Regions from separate parts of the Homo sapiens genome. Here all the other regions are linked to region 1. The links are contacts of gene promoters, found by promoter capture Hi-C in blood cells and fetal thymus (Javierre and others, 2016). All regions are on one chromosome and are shown on one strand. Each heading gives the region's core, a stretch centred on a gene start or on the middle of the fragment in contact. The rest is flanking DNA. Distances are from core to core; before and after follow the strand shown.

Region 1 (2,665 bases), core at 166-2,665:
AAGGAACCAGTATGTTTCACAGGGAATCAGGATTGGTGACATGAGTGACTGTGACACTTGCCAACCCTTATTGCACTCCGCCCTGTTTGGTTTGGCCTTTTCTACCCCCACCTCACAGTTGTTTCCAACGTGCGGTGTCTGTTGGGCAGTGGCTTGGATACATTGAATCAGATATTTGAAATGCACTAGTCCATTTTATACATGCAAGTGCATTAAGGTTGCCCAGTAGGAAAACTGATAAGACAACAGATAAACTGCTACACGGACTTCTTCCCAGACAACGACAATAATTACACAACAGCTAATGAGGGAGTTTAAAAACAAAAACAACAACAACAACAACAACAAAACCTGACTAGAAGAATGTCTAGTCTTGAAGACAGGAGGCTTTTTTTCTTTTAGAAAAATCAGTCTGAGGTATTTATTTCACCCCGACTGTAACGACTCCGGGAACTCTTAGGCTGCCTATAAGTCTCTCCCACAGTAAAGAGTACACAAACGACACAACAACGACCAGAGGGGCCCCAAACTGAGGGCAAAAAGTTTTAGAGATTCGTTCACAGAAAAGCAACCTCTTGCTTTATACTATTTTTTTTTTTTTGATACGGAGTCTCGCTCTGTCACCCAAGCTGGAGTGCAATGGTGCAATCTCGGCTCACTGCAACCTCCGCCTCCCGGGTTCAAGCAATTCTCTTGCCTCAGCCTCCTGAGTAGCTGGGATTACAGGCGCGTGCCACCATGCCCGGCTAATTTTTGTATTTTTAGTAGAGACGGGGTTTCACCATGTTGGCCAGGCTGATCTCGAACTCCTGACCTCAGGTGATCCGTCCGCCTAGGCCTCGAAAAGTGTTGGGATTACAGGCGTGAGCCACCACGCCCGGCTGCTTTACATACTATTTTATTGAATTATAATGGACCTGCTACATGGAGGGCATGCAATAATTGCTTTTAGCGTAAATTAATCAAATGGACTAGGGAAATTTGACTACATCTAGAGAAGGTTTTCAACCATGGTGAGATCAGGAGGCTTCCAGAAATTTTCATGTCAAGACCATTAAAATGCAAGAGCGATGAAACTTTACAAAGAAACCGACACTTGAGCCCCACTTTGGAGACCCACTTAAAATTTTTATGGTGGGGAGGGGGGTGAAACTCCTAGGAAGAGTTTGCTGAGTTGCTTCAACAGATGTCACCAGCCTTCTGAGGGGGTGGGCGCGGGGGCGGCAGTGGAGCTGGAGATTGGCATTTGCCTCCTCAGGACACTTTCCGGCTAATTTCTTCTAGGTGCCTCAATGAATAAACCAGAAATAGAAAAGCGGGGACCAGGCGCGGTGGCTCACTCCTGTAATCCCAGAACTTTAGGAGGCCGAGGCGGGAGGATCATTGAGCCCAGGAGTTCCAGGTTGCAGTGAGCCGCGATCGTGCCACCGCAGCGAGACCCTGTCTCCAAAAAAAGAGACAGAAAAAGGGGAGGGTTAAGGAATCATTTCAGACTCGAAGAGAATATGGCCTCTCAAATTAAAATGGGCAGTTTCCGCCGAACTTTCAAAGCCGCTTGGTTTGGAGAGGGAGCAGGACGGCCGTGCTTCCCAAGGGTCTCCCGGCGTCGCGGCCCAGCCCGGCGTTACCTGCAGTTCGGCCCGCAGCCGCTTGTTCTCCGTGTCCAGCTTGGCCTCGCGGCGGCCCATGGACAACAACTCCTGGTTCTTGCTGACGCGAAAGATCTCGTACTCCTTCCTGAGCCGCTCGTACTCGGCCGCCGCGTACTCCAGCTCTGGCACCGACGAGCCAGTGGACTTGAAGCTGGCCCCCAGCAGCCCGCCCGCGCCCACCCCGCGGGGCAGCGACCCGGGCCCGGCCCCTGCTGCCGCCCCCGCGCCTCGGCGGAACGAGTTGCGCAGCAGGCGGGCCTTGGGCTTCACCTCCACCGGGATCTCGCAGGCCTCGCCGCCGCCCGCCCCGTACGTGTCCTCGATCACTTCCCCGCCCGCGGGGCTCACGAGCGACGAGGCGGTCCCCATGGCGTCCGTTGCCGCTACTACCTAGTGAGTACCAGCAGGACTGGGCAGCGGAACGGAACGGGACGGGGTGGGGCAGAGGAACGGAACGGGACGGGGCGGGGCAGAGGAACGGAACGGGACGGGGCGGGCCAGCGGGATGGAGCGGGGCCGGAGAGCAGGACTGGGCGGAGCAGCGGGACGGGGCGGAGCAGCGGAACGGGGCGAGGCGGGGGAGCGGGATGGGGCGGGGAAACAGGAGGGGCGGGGCAGCAGAACTGGGCGGGGCGGGGGTGCAGGACGGGGCGGGGGAGCAGGACGGGGCGGGGCAGCGGAACGGGGCGGGGCGGGGCCGGAGAGCCGGACGAGGCGAGGCAGCGGAACGGGGCGGGGAGGGAGAGCGGAAGGGGGTGGGGCAACTGGAGGGGCGGGGCAGCGGAACGGGACGGGGCAGCGGAACTGGGGGGATGGGCGAGGGGGACGGGGCGGGGCAGCAGGGCTAGGCGGGACAACAAGAGGGGCCGGGCAAGTGGGGCGGGGCATGTGGGCGGGGCAGGGCAAACGGGGGTGGGTCGAGAAAGCACACAGGGCCAGGCGGGCTAGCAAGAAGGGCGGGGCTAGCAGGAAGGATGGGGGGAGTGGCGACTGTGCAGGACCAGCAGTGGACC
Region 2 (2,665 bases), core at 84-2,583, 950 kb after region 1:
AGAACCCTTGTGAGGATATTGGCCCACCTGGATAATCAAGCAATACATTTCTCAATAAACCATGAGTTGAATAAGAAATCACAATAAAATTAGAATATATTTTGAACTGAATAACCATGAAGTTATAATATATCAAGAAAAGGAATACTTATAGGCAAATTTATAGCCTTTATCACATGTAATAGAGAAGAGAGGCTGAAAAATCAGTGACCTTAACTGCCTTAAAAGAAAAAAAAAGGCAAGAGAGGCCAGGCATGGTGGCTCACAGCTGTAATCTCAGCACTTTGGGAGGCCAAGGCAGGCAGATCACTTGAGGCCAGGAGTTCGAGACTGGCCTGAACAATATGGTGAAACTCCATCTCCACTAAAAAATAAAAATAAATAAAAATTACCCGGGTGCTCTGTCTAATGCCTGTAATCCCAGCTACTCAGGAGGCTGAGCCAGGAGAATCACTTGAACCCAGGAGGCGGAGGTTACAATGAGCCGCAATCTTGCCACTTCACTCCAGCCTGGGCGATAGAGTGAGACTCTGTCAAAAGAAAAAAAAAAAAAAAGAAGAAGAAGAAAAAGGAGAAGAAGGAAAGAAAGAATAAAGAAGCTAGAGAAAGACCAAAATTCAAAGTCAACAGAGCAGAAATCAATGAAACAATAAATGAATGTACAATAGAGAAAAACAGCAAAGCCAAGGTTGATTCTCTGAAAAGATTAATGAAATAGGTAAAATCCTGGCAATACTAATCAAGGAAAGTAGTAAACATAAATCACTAATATCAGCAATGAAAATACTAAATACCATATACTAAAAATGTCAAAGGATAAGATCATGAATGATTTTATATCAATAAATTTGAAAATTAGATAAAATGGACAAATTTCTTTAACAAAAAACTTACCAATATTGAAACTTGAAGGATCATAAAATCTGGATATTTCTCTAGCTATTTAAGAAACTCAATCTGTTATCAAAAACTTTTCCACAAGTAAAACTCTAAACACAGGTGGCTTCACTGGTGAGGCCTTCCGAACATTTAAGAAAGAAAGAATGCTATTCTTACACAGTATCTTCCAGAGAATAAGAAAAGAAGTAACATATTCCAATTAATTTTATGAGCAATTAAAACCTTGCAACCAAACTTTTAGTGACATTAAGATAAAGAAACCTGCAGAATGATTTCTCTCACGAACACAAATGCAAAAAATCCTAAAAAAAAAAAAAAAAGTAATCAAGTTCAGCAATATGTAAAAAAATGTTATACGTAATAGCCAAGTGGGGTTTATTCCAGGAATGTAAGAGTAGTTCAACATTTAAAAATCAATTAAAGGAGTCCAGCGTGGTGGTGCACTGCTGTAGCCCCAGCTACTTGGGAGGCTGAGGAGGGAGGATCACTTGAGCCTAGGAGGTGGAGCCTTCACTGAACTATGATCCCACAGCTGCACTCCAGCCTGGGCAATAGAGCAGGACCCAAGCAAGAGGGAAGGGAGGGGAAGGGGAGGGAAAGGAAGGGGAGGGGAGGGAAGGGGAGGGGGACAGAAAAAGGAAAGAAGAGAGAAAGAGAAAGAAAAAGAAAGAAAAAAGAGAATAAGAGAAGTTTACCACATTAATATAAAAGAAAAGGGAATCATATGAGTATCTTAGGTGCAGAAAAAATACTTGACAAAATGCAATACCCATTCATGATTTTTAAAAAATTTAGGCAACCCAGGAAGGAAGGAAAGTTCCTTAATATGGTTAATAATATTTAAAACAAAACAAAACACCAGCAAAAATTTTGCATAATGGAGAATTATTGAAAACTTTCCCTATCACCCTTCTACTCAATTTTGTATTAATAGTTCGGCAGTAACTATTAAAGCTGAACGTACATCTACTTCATGATGTATGGGGAAACCCTGCAGTGATGCATCCCTAAGTGCACGAAAAGACATGTAGTAGAATGTAATGTGAGTTCTAGCCAGTGCAGTAAGTCAAGAGGAAAGAGATTCCTAAGGATCTGAAAGGAAAAAACAAAACTGACCTTATTCATATAAGATATAAGGATGTGCATAGGAAGGAAGCAATTCCAACTAATAAGACAACTCAGCAAGATCACTGGATTCAAGGTCAATATACGAAAACCAATTGTTTTTTTCAGATACCAGCAACAGATAGAAAATACAGTTAAAATTATATCCACAGCAGCACTATCCTTAAGAGCCCACTGAAGACTACAACGATCAAGAGGAAAGATAAAATGTGCTGCATACACAGTGTAGAATGTGCAACGCTGATAATGAATAAAGGGCAACTATAAACAACATAGGTGAATCTCACACATAGCATCTCCAGTGAAAGAGGTCAAACACAGAATTGTACGTATGGTATGATTCCATCTGCATAAAGCTCAAAAATCAGCAGAATTAGTCTATGTGTTAGAAGTCAAGATAATGGGTACCTTTGTGGGAGGGGGTTGTGCCAGCTTTGTTTGTTAACGTTTTGTTTCTTGATGTGGGTGCTGGTTATGTGGGTGTGTTCATTTGATGATAATTAAGCCGTACATTTATTTAGAACATGTGACGTTCTATGCATATTTATTATACTTTAATTAAAAGTTCTTAAAATTGTATTTAAATTCAGATTTTCCCCAGGCAGAAGTCACAGACCTGAGCAGGATCGGGCTGCAGGGG
Region 3 (2,665 bases), core at 61-2,560, 900 kb after region 1:
ACACATCATTATCTCATCCATTCCTCACAACAATCCTAACACTGGTATTATTACATTAATCTTAAAGATAAAAGAACTAAGGGACATGGTTCAGTACCCTGTTCAAGGATACTCAATGAGTAAATGATAGAGATAACTTTGACTTCAAAAGCCATGCTCTTAACTATTATATTATGCTATGATCTCCCAATTCTTCCTATTCAATATTCTCTCTTTTTTTGAGACAGAGTCTCACTCTGTCACCCAGGCTGGAATGCAGTGGCACAATCTTGGTTCACTGCAATCTCCACCTCCCGGGTTCAAGCAATTCTCCTATCTCAGCCTCCTGAGCAGCTGGGATTATAGGCGTACGCCACCACACCCAGCTAATTTTTGTATTTCTAGTAGAGATGGGTTTTCACCATATTGGGCAGTGGTCTCGAACTCCTGACTTCAAGTGATCCACCCGCCTTGCGCTCCCAAAGTGCTGGGATTACACGCATGAGCCACCGTGCCCGGCCGCTATTCAATATTCTCTTGACCTGGGAAACATCAAGTAAAAACCAAAGGGTAGGTAAAAATTATATTTCTAAATACAATCACCAAAATAAACAGAATTTTATCCTTAGGGACACTTAATATTTTCCATTTTCTAAGTAAGGAATATCTCTGAGCTTTTTAAATAGACAAATGAATTAAGAAGCTGGGTGCAGTGGCAGTGGCTCATGCCTGTAATTCCAGTACTTTGGGAGGCCAAGGCAGGTGGATCACCTGAGGTCGGGAGTTTCAGACCAGTCGACCAACATGGAGAAACCACATCTCTTCTAAAAATACAAAATTAGCCGGGTGTGGTGGCGCATGCCTGTAATACCAGCTACTCAGGAGGCTGAGGCAGGAGAATCGCTTAAACCCAGGAGGTGGAGGTTGTGGTGAGTCGAGATTATGTCACTGCACTCCAGCCTGGGCAACAAGAGCAAAACTCCCTCTCAAAAAAAAAAAAGAATTAAGAAAAAGAAGTAAGAAGTACTATTGCCTCCTAAGTTATATTATAAAAATCTCTATTTCCTACTGACCATGTATCCTAAAACATAACAATAAAAATACACCTTGCCTAATTTGTTAGTTCTCAGAATAACTGTCTCCCTTTCTGCGTAGTGGTATATTATCAAGATAATTCAGAAAAACAGAGGAGTATTTTTGCCTGAATCAATTTGGTTTACCAGTCAACTCCACTATGACAATATGGAAACCATGAGTTTCAGTCTTCAGAGGCCATTCAAGAACAGACTGTCAGTGGTTGTAGATGGTTTACATCAGGGTTTGGCAAATTTTTTCTTAAAAGGCCAGATAGTAAATATTTTAGACTTTGCAGGCCAAACAATCTCTTTTGCAACTGCTCAACTTTTGTCTTGTATGTGAAAGCAGTCATAGGCAATTTGTAAGTGAAAAGGCATTGCTGTATTCCAATAAAACTTTACTTACAAAAACAGATGAACCAGCCCATACACCCTTGGTCTAGATCAGCGGTTTCAGCAAAAGTGTTACTTCAGGGGTTATTTTGGACATTTGTGAGGGTGATTTTGGTTGTTACAATGTGTGTTTGTATGTTGGAGGGTGCTACTAGCATGCAGTGGGTAAGGTACAGGATGCTGGAAATTCTGGGGAACAGTCATACATATAATTATGTCATATCTTGCATGATATTCTAATGTCCCGACAAATTCACGTATGTAAAAAAAAGTTGTTTATAATTAGTTGAGTCTAGAACCTGTTCGACATATAAACAAGTTATTTTTTTGCAGTTTTAATATACACTAATATTACAAAAATGTGACTACTGTATAAATTGATGGAAGACCACTGCTACTCATGGTATCTGAGTCCCCAGATCGGTCTCAGCCTTGGGACTGTTGGATTTGTGGTGCCTTTACATAGGTATACAAACGTATTAATACTCCATTGTTTTCTAGTGTAGTCAGCCTTAGGCATTATACATAACTGAACATATATCTTTTCTATATTATGCACCTTCTATTTCTCCTATGCATCACAGAGTGCTATACTGTCTGCTACTTTTTTAAATTATAAAAGTAGGTAGGTTATATTTATATTCATTTTAATAGAGGGAATGTTACACAAATATTTGTAATAAAATGAAGATGCTGCATCTGATTTGTTGCAAAGATCGGGCCTACATGTTTAACTGTCTGAAGACAGAAGACAGTATCCGATGATCTCTTTGGGACAGTCTGGTCCTAGATGATGGAAGGGAACATTTGGAACAACTTCACTTGAGAACTGCTTTACTCTATGCATATATAAATATCTAACCTCTGCATATTATAAGGCTCTTCCCTTTATCAATTACCAATCCATTTCAGGAAAAGATTTAATATAAACTTTAATGCAATGCAATGGTTAAATTCTGTTTAGGAATTTCAGTAATAAATTCTATTTTTTATACTGAGAGGACTGGCATTTAAAATCATATAAAAACATACATCCTATATGTTCCCTTGAAAGTCTTATATCATGTCTACATCAAAACAGAATAAACAAGGAAACATTCAATTTTGAGGAAAAAAAAATATACACACACCCCTTGTAGGGCTACTATGAGAATGAAACGAGATAATGCTCAGCAACTGGCAATAGGTAACATAATAGGTAATTAGATAATAACAGA
Region 4 (2,665 bases), core at 77-2,576, 890 kb after region 1:
AATATTAAATACACACACACACACCAACAAACAAACAAACAAACAAAGAGACCATGAAAGAAAAAGTGCTCGATGTCATTAGTCATCAGGGAAATACAAATTACAAACACTCTGTACAAATTACAATGTGCTCCCACTATAAACCTACCGCATGGCTAAAAATCAAATGACTGCCAACACTAAATGTTGGCAAAATATGGAATAACCAGAAGGCTTACACAGATTGAGTATCCCTTATCTGAAGTGCTTAGAATCAGAAGTATTTCAGATTTTGGAATATTTATATTTACTGGTTGAGCAACCGAAACCCAGAAATCAGAAATGTTTACGATTTTGTACCATTTCTAACTTTTGGATTTGGGATGCTCAATCTGTATATTATTGGTGGAAAGTGTAAAATGGTAAAAATCCCTGTATATTTTTAGTAGCTTTACTAATGATAACCAAGATGACAAACAGCTACTAAAAATATACAGGCTTTTTTATGGACATATTTTTTCATTTTTCCTGGGTAAATAGGACAGAATTGCTGTGTAATAGAATAAGTAAATATTTCGTTTTTTAAGAAGCTGCCAGGCCTTTTGTCAAAGGGATTTTTACCATTTTACACTTCCCACCAATAATGTACAGATTGAGCATCTCAAATCCAAAAGTTAGAAATGGTACAAAATCCTAAACTTTCGAGCACTTATGTGATGCTCAAGGGAAGTGCTTATTGGAACATTTCTGATTCCAGGAGTCCAAGGGTCCATCAATAGGAAAATGAATCAACTATGGTATATTCAGACAAAGAAATACTACTCAGCAATAAAAAGGAATGAACTACTGGTATACACTACAACTTGAATGAATGTCAAAAACATCACGTTGAGTGAAAACCTTAGATAAAATCGTGGATACTAATCAGTATGCCCTCTGCTCTATAACGGCTTCACATTTGTGTTTTAGGCATTCTATTAAATCCTGAGCAATCTCCAAGCACAGCAGCAAAATCACAAAGCTGACTTTGAGTGTTGGCCTCCCCTTATTTCTGTATCATCCCAGTTGAAATCCTTCATAGATTATGATTATGAAATCTAATCCTTATGATTATGTGTCATGCCTGCTGACTCCTGATGGCCTTTTGGGCACTCTGGTGTCAGAAGATTTTTCTTACCCCATTCAAATTACACAACACAGGCCAATTCTGAATATGAGAGTAGTAAGCCCACCATATAGCAAATGCTTAAATTTACCACAGTGTCTAACATAGGTATTTAATGTACATGAAAGCAAACAGTCAAGAAAACTAAAGGACCTTTGGATAAATGTTTCTCCTTGGACTCCTGGAATCGATTTCTGCTTTATATTCCAACATTTTAAAGGGTATTTTTAAAGCCTTTAGAGGTACCTAGATTTTTATACTCTTCTCATATTTAACTTCCAAGCTAAATGTTTACATAATATGTTCATTATAATAAAAAACACAAATAGAATAAAACTGAAAGGGCTGGAATAGAAGAGAATAACAGGAGACTAATCTTCTACTAATCATGAGCTGAAGGTTTTGTTGTGCAGTTACTTATCTATGCACATAAACGTATCTCTGGTAATGAGGAGGTCAAGGATAGAATCTCACAAACCTGCATGAGATAATCAGCAATGTATTCTGTTCTCAAGCAGTACACGTTCTGGGCAGCAGCTTCTGCTATATTAACTCCTGAGTCATCTGGTTTCAGTTTATTCAAGTCAGAAAAAAGATGTGTGGCCTCTTTAAATAAAGGTACAGAATGACCAGGTAGCACCTAATGAAAAAACAAGGTAGTATCACAATCTACCAGTATTCCAAAGTAGTTCAGCTGTATAATGTGTACTTAAGGATTACCATTTCAAAAAGTAGAGAAAATGAAGAACTCATCATAGCAATCTTGGTTAGATGATTATTCATGTAAAAAGGTCAGTAAATTAATTTGATACAAACCTTTGCTCCTCCTGACTGAAGAAGGCGTTTGAAGCCTGCTTCTCGAGACTGATCCACATGTAAAATAACCTTCCACCCACTAAATGCTCCCTACAAATAAAAAACAATCAGTGGTGAAATCATTTGGAAAATAACAAAATAATACAGATAATGCATGATTTTATCTGTAGACTTAGTTTTGTCAATAAATCTTATAAACTTTACTTTTGCCACAGTATAATTATCTCTGGCCAGAACACTGAAACGTGAATCCATGGTATCTGGCACATAGTAGGCCATCAAGAAATACGTGAGGAATGAAAAACCATTAATGATTAGGTAACATTAAAACAAAGCAGTGTGATTGATGTTTAGTCTTTTCTAGTATTTTTTTCTTTTGATTAATCAAGGGAAGAGCTTCAAGCAGAGCTCCTTAGGTTAGATGAAGCCTGCGTTTCACTTCTCTTAAAAATGTTTACAAACTGGAAACAAAATATTTAGGAAGGGAATAACAACTAACAAAAGCCAGTGGAATTACTCTAAAAGAGAGGGTATCATGGCTAATAAGGATTTGGAGATATCAGAGAACTTAGAATACAACATGAAAGACTATTTAACTCAGGGGTTCTGATAATGGTTTGGCTGTGTCCCCACCCAAAATCTCATCTTGAATTGTAATCCGAATGATAATCTCCAAGTGTTGGGGGAGGGACCTCGTGGGAGGTG
Region 5 (2,665 bases), core at 90-2,589, 840 kb after region 1:
GCATGGCACATGTACACATATGTAACTAACCTGCACATTGTGTACATGTACCCTAAAACTTAAAGTATAATAATAATAAAAAGAAAAGAAAAAAAGCCCAAAAAACTAGAGGTGAAGTTTATTTCTCTTCTTTTTGAACTTTGTATGGCAGACACACCTGACACCAATAACTTAACTTAAGCATATGCTGAGAATGACCCTATGGTCTAAGAAGAATGTGCATTTGGCGTTCCGAGCTAAGAAATCCGGGAGTGGCCAACCCACAGACTCACTCATTATCAATGAAGGACATTTGAATCCTTGGCCCATTCCTTGGAACACAGGCTATACAGGGGATGAACGCCCTTTGTTTTGGGTTAAAAGAAGGTTGCTAGGTGGAGGCTGCTAAATAAAAATGCTATGTGTAGGCTGGGCGCCATGGCTCACACCTGTAATCCCAGCACTTAGGGAGGCCGAGGCGGGCAGATCACCTGAGGTTAGGAGTTTGTGACCAGCCTGGCCAACATGGTGAAACCTCGTCTGTACTAAAAATACAAAAATAGCTGAGCGTGGTGGTGCGCACCAGTAATCCCATCTACTCGAGAGACTGAGGCAGGAAAATCACTTGAACCCGGGAGGCAGAGGTTGCAGTAAGCCAAGATCATGCCACTGCACTCCAGCCTGGGCAACAGAGTGAGACTCCATCTCAAAAATAAATGTGCTCTGTGTGTGTGTATATATATATTTTTTTAATTAAAAAAAAAATAGAGCAAGCTATCTACCTGCCTTGGCCTCCAAAGGTGCTAGGATTACAGCCACCGTGCCCAAATGCTATATAAACTGCATGCTTTTTACAAACGGTAGTTGTTTTCCCATCCAGCCTGCCACCACTGGAGCATCGCTGTATTTAAGTTCACCCAATACATCCTGTGTCTTGTTTGCTTTCCTTCGGCCTCTCGGACATGATACCATCCCTATTGGAGTTAATAGGGGTCTGGCAAGACAAACTGGGGCTGGTCTCATGGCATGTTATGCCAATGGAATGCAGTCTAAGTAACACTGTGCCAGTTCCAGGCCTGGGCCATAAGAGGTCTCACAGCTTTCACTCTTGCCCTCTTAGGATCCAGTTGTCTTGTAAGAAAGCTCAGGTCTGACTACTAAATGATGAGAGACCACATAGAGAGGAAGGTAACTAGCCATCCCTCAGCTGTTTCAGACACCCCAGTTAAGTCACTAGACAAGTTAGGAAACCTATCTTGGTCATTCTCACCCTAGACAGGCTCCCACTTGAATGTCATCACATAAATGACCCCAGACAACACTGCAGGGAGCAGAACCACCCAGTTGAGTCCTATGCCATCTCTGCCTCCCATGTAACACTTGGCATGTGGCTGGGCAAACTCAACTCATCCTTCAGGAGCTGACTGCAGTATGCCTGCTGTGCCAGACCCCACTGACTGAGCAGGCCCAACAATGCACCTCAACCTTGACCGCGTGTTAGAATCACCCGGGGAGCTTCCCAAAACGCCCATGGTGGTCCAACCCCCAGAGATTTAGCTTCCTTGTCTGAGGCAAGGCAGAGATATTGAGACGAGTGAAGGGTGGAAGGGTTGGGCAATAGTACATGATGAAAAGAAGAAACTGACTCTGCAGTCACAGCAGGCCTAGGTTCAAATCTTGACCCTTCCTCTAACTAGATGTATATCCTCTCTGATCCTCAGCTTTCTCATCTGTGAAAAGGGTAACTATCATCTCCCCTTCCAGTGAGCTAAGGGGAGTCAGCTGCCATAGAACAAAGTGATTAAAAGTAAAGAACTTGGAGGCAGAGAGAATGGGGTTAAAATCACAGCTTAAGCACTACAAAACTATGAGAAATAAGGGTATGCTACGAACAACTGCAACCCAAAAATTTGGCAGCTTAAATGAAATGGATCAATTATTTGAAAGACACAAACTACCAAAATTCACTCAAGAAGAAATAGATAACCTGAATAGTCCTATATGTATCCAGTTGAATTTGTAGTTTAAAATTCCAGGCCCTGGTGGTGTCTCTAATGAATTCAACCCAAACTGTGGGAGACTCTAAACTACTTATGTATTTAAAATCTCAAAAGATAGAGATAATAAAACTTATCCTTGGCTGGGTGTGATGGCTCATGCCTGTAATCCCAGCACTTTGGGAGGTCAAGGTGGGCAGATCACCTGAGGTTAGGAGTTTGAGACCAGCCTGGCCAACATAGTGAAACCCTGACTCTACTGAAAATACAAAAATTAGCTGGGCATGGTGGTGCATGCCTGTAATCCCAGCTACTCGGGAGCCGGAGGCAGGAGAATCACTTGAACCCAGGAGGCGGAGGTTGCAGTGAGCCGAGATCGCGCCATTGCACTCCAGCCTGGACAACAAGAGTGAAACTCTGTCTCAATAAATAAATAAATAAAAATAAAACTTATCCCTGCATGAGCCAGGCACAGGGCTGGACTCTTGTCCTGCTCCGCCTCTAACTGGTGAGCAACTGTGGGTAAATCCCTTCACTTCTCAGTGCTGTAAGATTTTTAGCAGGAAAATGTTAAGATTCTAAAAATGCTCTGCTGTACATCATTCACTGGGGAAGAAATGTGTCTGCTTGATGCTTGAAGGGGAAGTGGGCTGACTCCTGGACAGCAGGATTCTGCCTGGGGCCACAGC
Region 6 (2,665 bases), core at 99-2,598, 790 kb after region 1:
ATTTTTTATTTTTAGTAGAGATGGGGTTTTGCCATGTTGGCCAGGCTGGTCTCAAACTCCTGACCTCACGTGATCCTCCTGCCTTAGCCTCCCAAAGTGCTGGGATTACAGGTGTGAGCCATGGCACCCAGCCTGGATATGGATTTTTACCTTCTCTGCACATAATTCTTCTGCTGTAACTACCACCTGTAGACTTAAAGAATGTCTTATCTACCATCATGGTATTCCATACAGCATTGCTTTTGACCAAGGAACACACTTCACAGCCAAAGTACAGCAATGGGCTCATGCTCCTGGAATTCACTGGTCTTTCCATGTTCCCTACCATCCTGAAGCAGCTGGCTTGATAGAATGATGGGATGGCCTTTTGAAGACACGGTTATAGTATGATAGGTGATAATACTTCGTAGGGGCAAGATTCTCCAGAAGACTGTATAAGCTCTGAATCAGCATCTAATACACGGTACTGTTTCTCCCATTGCCAGGATGTAGAGGTCCAGGAATCAAGGGGTGGAAATGGGAGTGGCACCACACACCATGACCCCTAATGACCTACTAGCACAATTGTTGCTTCCTTTTCCCATGGCTTTATGCCCGGCTGCCATAGAGGTCTTATTTCCAGAGGGAAGAATGCTTTCACTAGCAGACACAACAATGATTCCATTGAACTGGAAGTTGAGACTCGCACCTAGCCACTTTGGGCTCCGCACACCTCTGAGTCAGGGGAGTTATGGTGTTGGCTGGAGTGATTGATCTGGACTACCAAGGAGAAATTGGACTACTACTCCACAATGGAGGTAAGGAGGTAAGTATTTCTGAAATACAGGCAATTCCTTGGGCCATCTCTTAATATTACCATGCCCTGTGGTTAAGGTCAATGGGGAACTATGATAACCCAATCTAGCCAGGACTATGAATGGCCCAGAGCCTTCAGGAATAAGTTTTGAGTCATCACATTAGGTAAAGAATCAAGCCGAACTGCTTGCTAGAAGCAAAGAGAATACAGGATGGATGGTAGAAGATGATAGTTATAAATACCATCTAAGACCCTATGACCAGTTACAGAAATGAGAGCCGTAATTGCCATGAGTATTTCCTCCCTCTTTTGTCAAATGTGAGCTAGTTTAACAAAAGGAGGAGGTTTGGGCACATACCAGGGTTTCCTGGAACCAGGCAATAGGGTCTCCTGTGGCCTGGGGCCCAGACATATTTATTTTATTTCCTCTCTTATTATTGTATCAGGTAACATAAAATATATTGACTTTATATCAGCAGTTAAGTATCGTTAATTTTACATTATTTAACTTATGGGATATCGGGAGAAGAGTAAACATCACTCAAAGACTTTACCTCCTCTTCTGGGGAAGGAACTGGTGCACTTTTATTGCGTGTAGGATAGTTGTATCATGTTAGGTGGAACTATGGCTTTAAGAAGATGGGTAAATGTGGCTGGGCGTGGTGGCTCACGCCTGTAATCCCAGCACATTGGGAGGCCAAGGGGGGCGGATCACGAGGCAGGAGTTTGAGACCACCTGGCCAGTGTGGTGAAACTCTGTCTCTACTAAAAATACAAAAATTAGCCGGTCGTGGTGGTGCATGCCTGTAGTCCCAGCTACTCAGAAGGCTGAGGCAGAAGAATAGCTTGAACCCAGGAGGCAGAGGTTGCAGTAAGCTGAGATCATGGCACTATACTCCACCCTAGGTGACAGAGCAAGACTCCATCTCAAAAAAAAAAAAAGATGGGTAAGTGTGCCAAGTTGACAAGGTGTGAACTTTTGATGATTAGTTTTAGGTGTTAATGTGACTGGATTAAGGGATACCCAGATAGCCAATAAAGCATTATTTCTGGATCTGTCTGTAAGAATATTTCTGGAAAAGACTGGCACTTGAATCAGTAGACTGAGTAAGGAAGATCAGCCCTCACCCAATGTGCAAGCACCAACCAGTTGGTTGAGGGCCCAAATAGAAAAAAAAGGCAGAGGAAGGACAATTTGCTCTCTCTCTTCTGGAGGTGGGACACCCATCTTCTCCTGCCCTTGGACATCAGAACTCTAGGTTCTCTGGCCTTTGGACTCCAGGCCTTATACCAGCAGCTCCCCAGGTTCTCAGGCCTTCAGCCTCTGACTGAGAGTTACACCATCGGGTCTCCTTGTTCTCAGCCTCTGACTTTAGACGAAGCCATGCTATCAGTTTCTTTGGTTCACCAGCTCACAGATGGCATACCGTGGGACTACTCAGCCTTGTGATGACATAAGCAAATTCCCTCATAAATCCCGTCTCATAGATCTCTATCTAACTCCTACCTACCTATGTACCTATATCCTACTGGTGCTCTGGAGAAGCATGATTAACAGGTGGACACCTGACTCCAGAGGGTCAGTCCGAATTTTTTCTCCCAAGAATGTGGATTTGATCCTAAAATGAATGAGTCAGTTTCTGCTGGTTGCTTCACTCATAGACGGGCCAGCTCAAGATCTGCAAGTGGGCCTTTCCTCCACAGGGGTAGGGAAGTCTAGAAGTCTGCTCTACAGGAGAGGCAGGAACCTGACACGCAGGCAGAGGAGAGATAGATGTCACAGCTTTGAGGAGTCAGAGGAAAGCTCTGCCTTCCTTTCCAGATTCTGTCCAGCTCCGGGTCCCAGGCCTCAGGAGACCCTATTGCCTG
Region 7 (2,665 bases), core at 63-2,562, 770 kb after region 1:
CTTGAGTTCTGGTATTTCCTCAGGTTAGATTCAAGTTGCACACTTTCAGTTGGAATACCATAAAACTCACCAGGAGGCATGTGATATCAATATGTCCCTCTCCTGGTGATATTAATTTTGTTTACTGGGTTCAGGTGGCGTGTGCCAAGCTTCTCCACTGTAAAGTTACTGTTTTTCCATTTGTAATTAGTAAGTATCTTGTGGAAAAATATTTTTAGTCTATTTTGAGTAAATATTGTTATTCCTCAAACTTTCTGTCCCAGAAGTTTTAGTTTTAGCATCAATTGATGATTCCTGCCCACGTCAATTATTACTTATTATGGTTGCCAAATGGTGATTTTCAAATTCCATCATTTCTTCTACATTTTTTAGTTGGCTTTCTTCTATAAGAAAAAATGTTCTGGCCGGGCACGGTGGCTCGCGCCTGTAATCCCAGCACTTTGAGAGGCCAAGGCAGGAGGATCACCTGAGGTCGGGAGTTCAAGACCAGCTTGATCAACATAGAGAAACGCTGTCTCTACTAAAAATACAAAATTAGCTGGGCGTGGTGGCACATGCCTGTAATCCCAGCTACTCGGGAGGCTGAGGCAGGAGAATTGCTTGAACCTGGGAGGCGGAGGTTGTGGTGAGCCAATATTGCACCATTGCACTCCAGCCTAGGCAACAAGAGCGAAACTCCATCTCAAAAAAAAAGAAAGAAAGAAAGAAAGAATGTTCCTTTCTTCCCTATTGTGTGTGTGTGTGTGTGTGTGTGTGTGTGTGTGTGTGTGGTGTGTGTGTGTTTATATCAGCATGAACACATGGAGGGGCTGCAAGTTTTGAGCAGGGCCTAGAGCAAAAAGGCATCTGTAGCAAGCTGAGGTGTGGAGCCAGCTGCCTGCCACTGCACCTATGACCAGCATGCCCAATAATTGTGGAAGTATCTGTTGCAGACAAAGGTAACATATAGAACCCTTGGCACGCCACAGTAGGAGAATAACAGTCATAGGATATTTGAGAAAGGCTATGTCCACCACTGTTGTCAGTTAGTCTCCACTAAAAAGCAACTCCTGACTTCCTCCTGAAACCTCATGGACTGAGCACTTGGCTTCAGGACCTACTCTGTACCTGGGCTATGTGAATGGGTGCTCCTCCTGCTGAACACCAGTGTATTCCAGCAATAGGGAGCACCAGCAGGAGAATGAGGGACGAAAGAGAGTGAGGTCAGTGTATTTATTGCCCTGCCCCTCCCTGCAGCATCACCACAGGCCAGTTCTGATGATGAATTGAGGAAAAAATATCACTCCTATGATATTTTTACCAAAAATGCGTAATCCAAATCTAATCCTGAGAAAACATCAGACAAGCTCAAATGGAGGCACAGTCTACAAAATCATTGGCCTGTACAACCCAAAAAACATCAAGTTTATAAAAGACAAGGGAAGACTGAGGAACTGTGCAGATTAAAGAAAACTAAAGAAACCTGACAACTAAATGCAACCCATGAACCTGGATTGTATCCTGGACCAGAAAATTGTTTTCTTTTGTTACAAAGGACACATTTTGGACAACTGATGGAATTTAAATAAAGTCTGTAAGTTAGATAATAATATTGTATCAATGTTTATTTCCTAATTTTCTTATAACTGTATAAAAGATTAGGTTCATGCTATACATGCTGTTTTTGTTCTTTTGTTGTTGTTGTTTTTGATTTTGTTTTTTTTTTTTTTTCTGAGACAGGGTCTTGCTCTGTCACCCAGGCTGGAGTGCAGCGGGTGCAGCGGTGCAATTTCAGCTCACTGCAGCCTTGACCTCCCCAGCTCAATCAATTAGCCCTCCCATCTCAGATTCTCAAGTAGGGACTACAGGTATGTACCACCACACCAGGCTAATTTTTTTTTTTTTTTTGTAGAGGTGGGGTTTCACCATGTTGCCCAGGCTGGTCTCAAACTCCTGTGTTTAAGCGATCCACCCGCCTCGGCCCCACAAAGTGCTGGGGTTACAGGTTTGAACCACCACACCAGGCCTTAAATTTTAAATAGAGACGGAGTCTTACTATGTTGCCCAGGCTAGTCTTGAAGTCCTGGGCTCAAACAATCCTTCCACCTCAGCCTCCCAAAGTTCTGAGATTATGGAAGTGAGCCACCATACCCAACTTATGCTGCTTTTTAAGAAAACTGAGTTTTTAGTTTAATTTCACTTGAACTTAACACAAGAAAAAATGAAATTAAATTGAAAGAAATGTTAGACTTTTAACACATTTTTTTCACCTTAGGAAATATTCGTTGTTATAGGATTCTTCTGTTTCTATAGGTTTAAAAAAATGAAAGCTGTTAAGAGGTTGGAATGTTATACATTACTTTTAAGTGCATGTTTCATTTTTACATAGTATCAATTCTCTCTATACTATAAAACATGTAATTATTGGCATAGGTATATTTCTTCCTTTTCCCTTCTCTTTCACTCTTGTTTGTTGCTCATATCATTTCTACTTTATCAAGCTTTATAGTCTGGGCACGGTGGCTCACACCTGTAATCTCAGCACTTTGGGAGGCTGAGGTGGGCAGATCACTTGAGGTCAGGAATTCAAGACCAGCCCGGCCAACCTGGTGAAACCCCATCTCTACTAAAAGTACAATAATCAGCCGTGCCTGGCTGATTAGCATCATTCTTAATCAATTTTTCC

Evidence for each region. The method cuts DNA at HindIII sites, captures the fragments that hold promoters and counts their contacts. A CHiCAGO score of 5 or more calls a contact.
Region 2: a fragment that was not itself captured here is called in contact with the fragment with the promoter of NPHP3-AS1 in region 1 in 2 of 17 cell types (total CD4 T cells and fetal thymus); the score reaches 6.4 in total CD4 T cells.
Region 3: a contact is called between a fragment that was not itself captured here and the fragment with the promoter of NPHP3-AS1 in region 1, in 8 of 17 cell types (total CD4 T cells, naive CD8 T cells, total B cells and 5 more). The highest score is 8.9, in total CD4 T cells.
Region 4: a contact is called between a fragment that was not itself captured here and the fragment with the promoter of NPHP3-AS1 in region 1, in 8 of 17 cell types (M2 macrophages, M1 macrophages, total CD4 T cells and 5 more). The highest score is 11.4, in M2 macrophages.
Region 5: a fragment that was not itself captured here is called in contact with the fragment with the promoter of NPHP3-AS1 in region 1 in 7 of 17 cell types (neutrophils, fetal thymus, monocytes and 4 more); the score reaches 9.0 in neutrophils.
Region 6: a contact is called between a fragment that was not itself captured here and the fragment with the promoter of NPHP3-AS1 in region 1, in 8 of 17 cell types (naive CD8 T cells, neutrophils, naive CD4 T cells and 5 more). The highest score is 8.8, in naive CD8 T cells.
Region 7: a fragment that was not itself captured here is called in contact with the fragment with the promoter of NPHP3-AS1 in region 1 in 8 of 17 cell types (naive CD8 T cells, total CD8 T cells, activated CD4 T cells and 5 more); the score reaches 13.6 in naive CD8 T cells.

Annotation. Positions count from the first base shown.
Region 1 is chr3:132,720,335-132,722,999 of GRCh38, forward strand. NPHP3-AS1 (NPHP3 antisense RNA 1) reads left to right here and starts at 1,416. Exons shown (of 11, transcript NR_002811.2): 1 at 1,416-2,045. NPHP3 (nephrocystin 3) reads right to left here and starts at 2,075. Exons shown (of 27, transcript NM_153240.5): 1 at 1,629-2,075. The coding sequence starts at 2,021. NPHP3-ACAD11 (NPHP3-ACAD11 readthrough (NMD candidate)) reads right to left here and starts at 2,125. Exons shown (of 45, transcript NR_037804.1): 1 at 1,629-2,125. RefSeq lists silencers at 1,732-1,981, 2,082-2,591. The HindIII fragment of the contact is 4,122 bases long and covers 1-2,665 here.
Region 2 is chr3:133,671,256-133,673,920 of GRCh38, forward strand. It overlaps a transcript of TF not described here. Among named protein-coding and RNA genes, the nearest start is that of TOPBP1, 11 kb to the left of the region's middle. The HindIII fragment of the contact is 3,186 bases long and covers 1-2,665 here.
Region 3 is chr3:133,624,765-133,627,429 of GRCh38, forward strand. All of the region lies in intron 16 of TOPBP1 (DNA topoisomerase II binding protein 1), which reads right to left. Among named protein-coding and RNA genes, the nearest start is that of TOPBP1, 36 kb to the right of the region's middle. The HindIII fragment of the contact is 6,507 bases long and covers 1-2,665 here.
Region 4 is chr3:133,606,913-133,609,577 of GRCh38, forward strand. It overlaps TOPBP1 (DNA topoisomerase II binding protein 1), which reads right to left. Exons shown (of 28, transcript NM_007027.4): 26 at 1,961-2,050; 27 at 1,623-1,784. Among named protein-coding and RNA genes, the nearest start is that of CDV3, 35 kb to the left of the region's middle. The HindIII fragment of the contact is 2,989 bases long and covers 1-2,665 here.
Region 5 is chr3:133,557,403-133,560,067 of GRCh38, forward strand. No RefSeq gene overlaps it. Among named protein-coding and RNA genes, the nearest start is that of CDV3, 15 kb to the right of the region's middle. The HindIII fragment of the contact is 7,264 bases long and covers 1-2,665 here.
Region 6 is chr3:133,512,338-133,515,002 of GRCh38, forward strand. No RefSeq gene overlaps it. Among named protein-coding and RNA genes, the nearest start is that of BFSP2-AS1, 23 kb to the left of the region's middle. The HindIII fragment of the contact is 7,656 bases long and covers 1-2,665 here.
Region 7 is chr3:133,495,020-133,497,684 of GRCh38, forward strand. No RefSeq gene overlaps it. Among named protein-coding and RNA genes, the nearest start is that of BFSP2-AS1, 5.2 kb to the left of the region's middle. The HindIII fragment of the contact is 2,331 bases long and covers 148-2,478 here.